Regions from separate parts of the Homo sapiens genome. Here region 2 is linked to region 1. Evidence: promoter capture Hi-C in human tissues and cell types (Jung and others, 2019). All regions are on one chromosome and are shown on one strand. Each heading gives the region's core, a stretch centred on a gene start or on the middle of the fragment in contact. The rest is flanking DNA. Distances are from core to core; before and after follow the strand shown. Region 1 holds the start of VMO1 (vitelline membrane outer layer 1 homolog). Region 2 overlaps LOC105371501 (a long non-coding RNA gene).

The links. Contacts are between HindIII fragments. The study calls those that stand out against the background at their distance.
Region 2: a fragment that was not itself captured here is called in contact with the fragment with the promoter of VMO1 in region 1 in 1 of the 25 tissues and cell types used here (heart right ventricle).

What each region holds. Positions count from the first base shown.
Region 1 is chr17:4,784,289-4,788,027 of GRCh38, forward strand. VMO1 (vitelline membrane outer layer 1 homolog) reads right to left here and starts at 2,076. Exons shown (of 3, transcript NM_182566.3): 1 at 1,870-2,076; 2 at 1,649-1,764; 3 at 997-1,371. The coding sequence starts at 2,064. The coding sequence ends at 1,074. The HindIII fragment of the contact is 14,296 bases long and covers 1-3,739 here.
Region 2 is chr17:5,041,280-5,045,053 of GRCh38, forward strand. The region is part of intron 3 of LOC105371501 (a long non-coding RNA gene); the gene reads left to right. It also overlaps a transcript of SLC52A1 not described here. Among named protein-coding and RNA genes, the nearest start is that of SLC52A1, 7.7 kb to the left of the region's middle. RefSeq lists a silencer at 2,371-2,519. The HindIII fragment of the contact is 3,862 bases long and covers 194-3,774 here.

The DNA.
Region 1 (3,739 bases), core at 826-3,325:
AAACAATCCACCCACCTCAGCCTCCCAGAGTGCTGAGATTACAGCTGTGAGCCACCACATCTGGCCATAATTTGGTAGAATTTTCTTAATCTTAGGTCACTGGTTCAGAAAGGAGACAACCTAGGCACCTAATGGGGGCAGGGTGTCTGCAGACTCTCTCAGAAAGCCAGACTTCCTGGGCCCGCACGATGGTGCAAGCCGGTAATCCCAAAACTTTGGAAGGCTGAAGCCAGTGGATCACTTGAGGTCAGGAGTTTGAGACCAGCTTGGCCAACATGGGGAAACTCCATCTCTACTAAAAATACAAAAATTAGCTGGGCATGGTGGTGGGTACCAGTAGTCCCAACTACTCAGGAGGCTGAGGCAGAAGAATCGTTTGAACCCAGGAGGTGGAAGTTGCAGTGAGCCAAGATCATACCACTGCACTCCAGCCTGAGTGACAGAGTGAGACTCCAAAAAAAAAAAAAAAAAAAAAAGCCAGACTTCCATCACTTGTCTGAAAATTATCTGTTTAAGTGCGTTTTTCTCGAGTCCATAACTTTTCAGCAATCTACCATAGACCCCTGAGACCAAATCCAAATGTATGCCTCACCTAATGCTAAGTTAGGAGGGGAAAAGGAGACTCAGTTCCCCATCCCTTAAACAGGCGAGACCAGCCGGGCATGGTGTCTCACGCCTGTAATCCCAGCACTTTGGGAGGCCAAGGTGGGCGGATCATGAGGTCAGGAGATCGAGACCATCCTGGCTAACACGGTGAAACCCCGTCTCTACTAAAAATACAAAAAAAAAAAAAAAAAATTAGCCGGGCGTAGTGGCGGGCGCCTGTAGTCCCAGCTACTCGGGAGGCTGAGGCAGGAGAACGGCGTGAACCCGGGAGGCAGAGCTTGCAGTGAGCCGAGTGAGCCACTGCACTCCAGCCTGGGGGACAGAGCGATACTCCGTCTCAAATAAATAAATTAATAAATAAATAAATGAAATAAACAGGCGAGACCAAAGTCAACTCAGAGAAGCTTTAATAGCAAGAGGTGGGACTAGCCTCCTGGCCCGGGAGAGAGCGGCGGCGGCGGCGCCGTTCAACTGCGGCAGCAGAATAAGCGCGCGTCGTTCAGCGCAGTGTCATCGCCGAGGCCTCTAGGTCCCTGGATCTTGGTCTGCAGGCCGCACGCGCCCTTGGGGCAATGGTCACTCCAGTCTCCAAAGTCTCCCCAGCTCAGCCCAGGCCCCTGCAGTTCCTCGCCGTCTGAACAGCGGAAGCGCACGTTGTTCGCTGCTGTGTTGTCACCGAGGGTCGTGGGTGCCTCCACGCGAAGCGAGAAAGCCACTAGGTAGGCGCCGCCGCGACACCACAGCGGCTCACTCCATTCGCCCCAGCTGCAAGGCAAAGGGAGATGCGTTGCCTCTGCGGGCCCCCCATTCACCAAGCCCTTGAGACTTTCCAAGCCAAGTGCTGTGTATATGACCTGGTGGGCTGGGTGCTCCCCGACCTCCGCCGAGGAGCGGAGGAGGGGTCTTCCATCCACCCTTCGCCTCCCCGGTCTATACTGCCCCGTAGCTCTGGCGGAGCCAGCCTGCCTGTTGCGACGGAGTATGTAATAGAGGGTAAGGGACATACCATCACCCCAAGGGATCCTCGACCCCTGCGCCCCACCTTCCAGACTGGGACTCTACCACGTGCGTATTGCCTAGGACGTTCCCGCGCGCGCAGTGCAGCCTGATCCCATTCAGTGCAGTGTCGTCGCCAGGAATGCCTTGGGGAGGCTCCACCTGGGTATCGAGGAGAGGGGCAAGGGCGAGTCACGGAATTATCATCCTTGGCTCTATGGTCCCACGCATCTCCGCCCTCTCCAGGACCTACGCCTGAGCCCCAACCTTGAGCGAGAACCCGCTGGCGAAGAATCCATCGGGACACATCTCAGGCCAGGCCCAGTCGCCCCAGGGACCCCCGCTGGTCACTTCGATGACCGCCGTGTAGCCGTTCCGGCCATCTGTCTGTGCACATGTGAAACCAGTCGCCCGCAGAAGCAGCAGCAGCGGCAGCAGCTTGGCTCCTGCGCCCCGCTCCATCCTGTAGCGTCTGTGAATCAGGCCTCCTAAGCAGATTTATATCAGTTTGGCCTCTGTGAGGGCTCCGATTGCGGAAGGGCCTCCCAGATTAAGTGAAACCCAAAACTAATCCACTCCCGGAACCCTATTTCCTGCTCCCGGAGGCAGAGGCTCCCAGAGCTAGGGTAGGAGGGGCAGTGAGAGAGGGCGAATTAAAATAACCATCACCTACTGAATATTTACTATAGGCTACGAATTATGGTTAGCGCTTTGCAGTATTTTGTTTAACCCTCACAACAATTTTTGGGGGGTGAGAATTATCCTTCCTATTTTGTAGATGAGGGAACTGGCTCAAAAATGGCAAGCAACTTGCCTTAGGTTTACAGCCAAGCAAGCTGGGAAACATTCCAGCAGTGAGAGTGGAGACAGAGCAGAGACCAGGGCTAGGGATGGAAGTGACCTCCCGGGAGTCCCACCAGTGACGGGATGGGGCAAGAGCAACCCAGAGACCTCCAGGATGTGAGGGGACATCAGAGTGAGGATAGGACAAGAATCCTCGAACTGGAGAAGCTGAGAAAACTCCTGTCAGCTCAGAAGTCTCTTCCTCCTCTGAGAGGTCTTCTGAGAGCTCAGGGCCCTAACACCTTGAGAATCCGGGACACTCCTCCCTACCTTAGAAGAAGACATATACAAACAGAAATAATTCTTTTTTATTTTTATTTTTTGAGTCGAAGTCTCACTCTGTCGCCCAGTGGCGGCATCGCAGTGGCGCGATCTCGGCTCACTGCTACCTCCACCTCCTGGGTTCAAGCGATTCTCCTGCCTCAGCCTCCCGAGTAGCTGGGACTACAGGCGCGCGCCAAGACGCCGCCCCGCTAATTTTTGTATTTTTAGTAGAGACCGGGTTTCACCGTGTTGGCCAGGATGGTCTCTATCTCTTGACCTTGTGATCCGCCTGCCTCGGCCTCCCAAAGTGCTGGGATTACAGGCATGAGCCACCGCGCCCGGTCCAACAGGAATAACTCTAAGAAGTTTGGGGACAGGAGACTAAGAACCCCTAAGAAAAGATCATGCTGTTTCTTCCATTGCTTTCTGTATCCTTATATCCTTTCCTGGAATGCCTTTCCCCCTGTGACCACCAGATGGACTCCTAATTTGCAAAACAAAAAGCGAGAAAATCTGGCTAAGTATGTTTTTTGTTTGTTTGTTTGTTTGTTTGTTTTGAGACGAAGTCTCACTCTGTTGCCCAGGTTGGAGTGCAGTGACGCCATCTCGGCTCACTGCAACCTCTGCCTCCCGGGTTCAAGCGATTCTCTTCCCTTAACCTCCCGAGTAGCTGGGATTATAGGCGTTCGCCACCACGCCCGGCTAATTTGTATATTTTTAGTAGAGACGGGGTGTTGCCATGTTAGCCAGGCTGACCTCAGGTGATCCGCCCACCTCGGCCTCCCAAAGTGCTGGGATTACAGGCGTGAGCCACCGTGCCTGGCCTAAAAATGCCTGGCTAAATTTGTTAGGGGCCACAACCCCAGATTTACCTGCCCCTCATACACACTCCTTTGTTTATTCAATACCTATTTAGCAATAATATGTTTTGGCTTAAGCAATATTCCACTTGCTGTAAGCAAGAATAACAAGGCCCCTGTCATCAGAGGTCACATTCCAGTGGGGGAGACAGAGGATAAATTCTCCCCCA
Region 2 (3,774 bases), core at 875-3,374, 260 kb after region 1:
ATTTATTTATTTATTTATTTTGAGATGGAGACTTGCCCTGTTGCCCAGGTTCGAGTGCAGTGGTGCAATCTTGGCTCACTGCAACCTCTGCCTCCTGGGTTCAAGTGATTCTCCCATCTCAGCCTCCCAAGTAGCTGGGACTACAGGTGCACACCACCATGCCCAGCGAATTTTTTTTTGTTTCTTTGTTTTGTTTTATTTTGTTTTGTTTTTCTGAGATGGAGTTTCACTCTTATTGCCCAGGCTGGGGTGCAATGGTGCGATCTTGGCTCACTGCAACCTCCGCTTCCTGGGTTCAAGTGATTCTCCTGCCTCAGCCTCCCGAGTAGCTGGGATTACAGGCACCCACCACCCTGCCCAGCTAATTTTTTGTATTTTTAGTAAAGACAAGATTTTATCATGTTGGCCAGGCTGGTCTCGAACTCCTGACCTCAGGTGATCCACCTGCCTCGGCCTCCCAAAGTGCTGGGATTACAGGTGTGAGCCACCACACCCCAAAATTTTTTTGTTTTTAATAGAGATGGGTTTCATTATGTTGGTCAGGCTGGTCTTGAACTCCTGACCTCAAGTGATCCACCTGCCTCGGCCTCCCAAAGTGCTGGGATTACAGGCGTGAGCCACCGCACCCGGCCTATTTTTAAGGATATGGTCTCACTGTGTTTCCCAGACTGGTCTCAAACTTCTAGGCTCAAGCAATCCTCCTGCCTCAGCCTCTCAAAGTGCTGGTATTACAGGCGTGAGTCACCATGCCCAGCCGTCCAACTTCCAATTTTTCACTGCCCCTAATTTCTTTACCCAGAAAGTACCTGGAATCCTAGACAATGGTTAGGGCTTCTATTCTGAAGACCTCACTGCAGCATTTAGCATTCTCGTGTTGGGGATGGATAGGGAGAGGGCGCACACAATCCCTGCAGCCTTCTGGGGCACGGGGCTGGCCTTACAGTAAGCACTTGAAGGCCCTTCATTCATGAACTGTTGTGCAGGGGATAAACTCTTCCTACTGACTTCCTCTTGAACCCCTGTCCCACTTCCCGTGTCTGTGTAGAGAAAGCTCACCACAGATGAATGTACTGTCTTCCTCTGCCTTCTGCTCCGGCAGCAGCTCTCCACCCTCTCCTCTATCTCAGGAACACCTGGCCTCAGAGCTCAGGGGAGGAGGTAAGCCCAATCAGTCTGAATCCTTATCTTATTCCTTCTGGCTTCAATCTGGCTTCTCCTGGATCTTGAACCCTTCCCTGTGGGTTAAAAGGCCATAGTCCTCTTTTTTTTTCTTTGTTGAGACGGAGTTTCACTTTTGTTTCCCAGGCTGGAGTGCAATGGCGCGATCTCAGCTCACCACAACCTCCGCATCCTGGGTTCAAGTGATTCTCCTACCTCAGCCTCCTAAGTAGTAGCCACCGCGCCTGGCTAATTTTGTATTTTTTTTTTTTTTTAGTAGAGACAGGCTTTCTCCATGTTGACCAGGCTGGTCTTGAACTCCCAACCTCAGGTGATCTGCCCCCCTCGGCCTCCCAAAGTGCTGGGATTATAGGTGTGAGTCACCGCGCCTGGCAAAAGGCCATAGTTCTTACCCCTCCAGCGTGACTGTCTCTGGGCCTGGCTTGGTTTTGACAACTCACCTGGGGGGCAGAGAAAACCCAGCCAACTGGTACAACTTAAACCTTTAGGGTGAATTTAACATTGCCTTGTCTCCTGCCCGAACAGATACCTCTACAGAGCAAACATTTTGTGAGATAAGCCCATAGATGAGGTTTGATACTCTTCCATTAAAGACTGGGGAATATTTGGAACTCAAATCTCAGCGGGGCCTTGAGTGGCAACACTGGCTTTCAAGGGCTGGAAAGAACTTTCGAGAACATTTAATCCATCATCTCATTGTACTCTTTTTTTTTTTTTTTTCTTGAGACGGAGTCTCGCTCTGTCGTCCAGGCTGGAGTGCAGTGGTGCAATCTTGGCTCACTGCAACCTCTGCCTCCTGGGTTCAGGTGATTCTCCTGTCTCAGCCTCCCAAGTAGCTGGGATTACAAGCACCCACCATCTCGCCTAGCTAATTTTTGTATTTTTAGTAGAGATGGGGTTTCACCATGTTGGCCAGGCTGGTCTCAAACTCCTGACCTCAGGTGATTCACCCGCCTCAGCCTCCCAAAGTGTTAGCATTACAGGTGTGAGCCACCACGCCCAGCCAATCATCGTATTCATTTTTGAAAGTATTTATGGAAGGCCCACTGTATAGAATGCATTTTGTTATGTATTTGGATGACACAAAGGCATATAATATACATAAGTAAAATCTTACAAGGCCTGGCCCTGTCCTTCCTCTCCTACCTCCTTTCTAGCACTCTCGGCCTCCCAACAAATTGCTTATGGTTCTCTGCAGACCCCACACTGTGTCCTACCTTTGTGCCTTTCCTCTTCCTGGAAGATCCTCCACACCTCACAGCCCCCCTCTACTGGCTGGCTTCCACTCAACAGTGAGTCTCAGCTTAGCTGCTGTAGCCTCAGGAGGCCTTGACTCTCTCAGACTGGGTTAAGTATCTCCCTCCCTCCCTCCCTTCTTTCCTTCCCTTTCTTTCTTTATTTTTCTTTATTATTATTATTACTTTTTTTGTGATGGAGTCTTGCTCTTGTTGCCCAGGCTGGAGTGCAATGGCGCCATCTTGGCTCACCACAACCTCCGCCTCCCAAGTTCAAGCGATTCTCCTGCCTCAGCCTCCCGAGTAGCTGGGATTACAGGTGTGCGCCACCACACCTGGCTAATTTTGAATTTTTAGTAGAGACAAGGTTTCTCCATATTGGTCAGGCTGGTCTTGAACTCCCGACCTCAGGTGATCCACCCGCCTACGGCCTCCCAAAGTGCTGGGATTATAGGCGTGAGCCACCGTGCCTGGCCACCTTTCCTTTCTTTCTGCAGGATCTTGCTCTGTTGCCCAGGCTGTAGTGCAGTGGTGTGATCACAGCTCACTGCAGCCTTGATCCCCAGGGCTCAAGCAATCCTCCCACCTCAGCCTCTTCAGTAGCTGGGGCTACAGGTACATGCCACTACACCTGGCGATTTTTTTAGAATTTTTATTTTTTGGTAGAGACAGGGTCTCACTATGTGGTCCAGGCTGGTCTTAAACTCCTGAGATGAAGCAACACTCCTGCCTTGGCCTCCCAAACTGCTGGGATTACAGGTGTGAGCCACTGCGCCCAGCCCCCCTTTCTTTTTAAGCTTACCTTATCACCACACTTACCATGTGATCATGAAATTATAGACTTTGTGCTTGTCATGTCGTGCCTTGACCCTGGACTCCTTGCCTTTAGGGATTGAACCTTATTCACCCTTTTAGTGAGACCCAGATTCTCCTCTAATAGGGACTGCAGCCTAGTAGGAGAGAGAAGGCAGCATGATCTCCTAACATGACTCCATCAGGGTGGGCGTGATAGATGCCAGAAGAGCAGTACAAATGAGGAAACTGAGGCTGTGGCTTGCCTGAAGTCACCTTCAGCTTCTTGGCAGGTGGCCAGAGCTGGAAGTCTACCTCCAGTTGGACACAGGAGCCTGGGAAGGAATTCGAAAGCAACCCAACCTTTCACCTCAGAGCTGAAGTCCTTGAGCCTCGGGGCAGTTGTGACTAAGATCAGGAGCCCACAGCCTAAACGGGGGAATGTTCTGGGTGACGAGGCAGTGAGGAGTAGTGAAAGGAGCCTGAGACTGGGCACCAGGAGACCTGGGTCTTGGTTCATGCTCTGTTCCACCTGACCTCTCACCTTCAATTCACTTTAGTCCGTGAT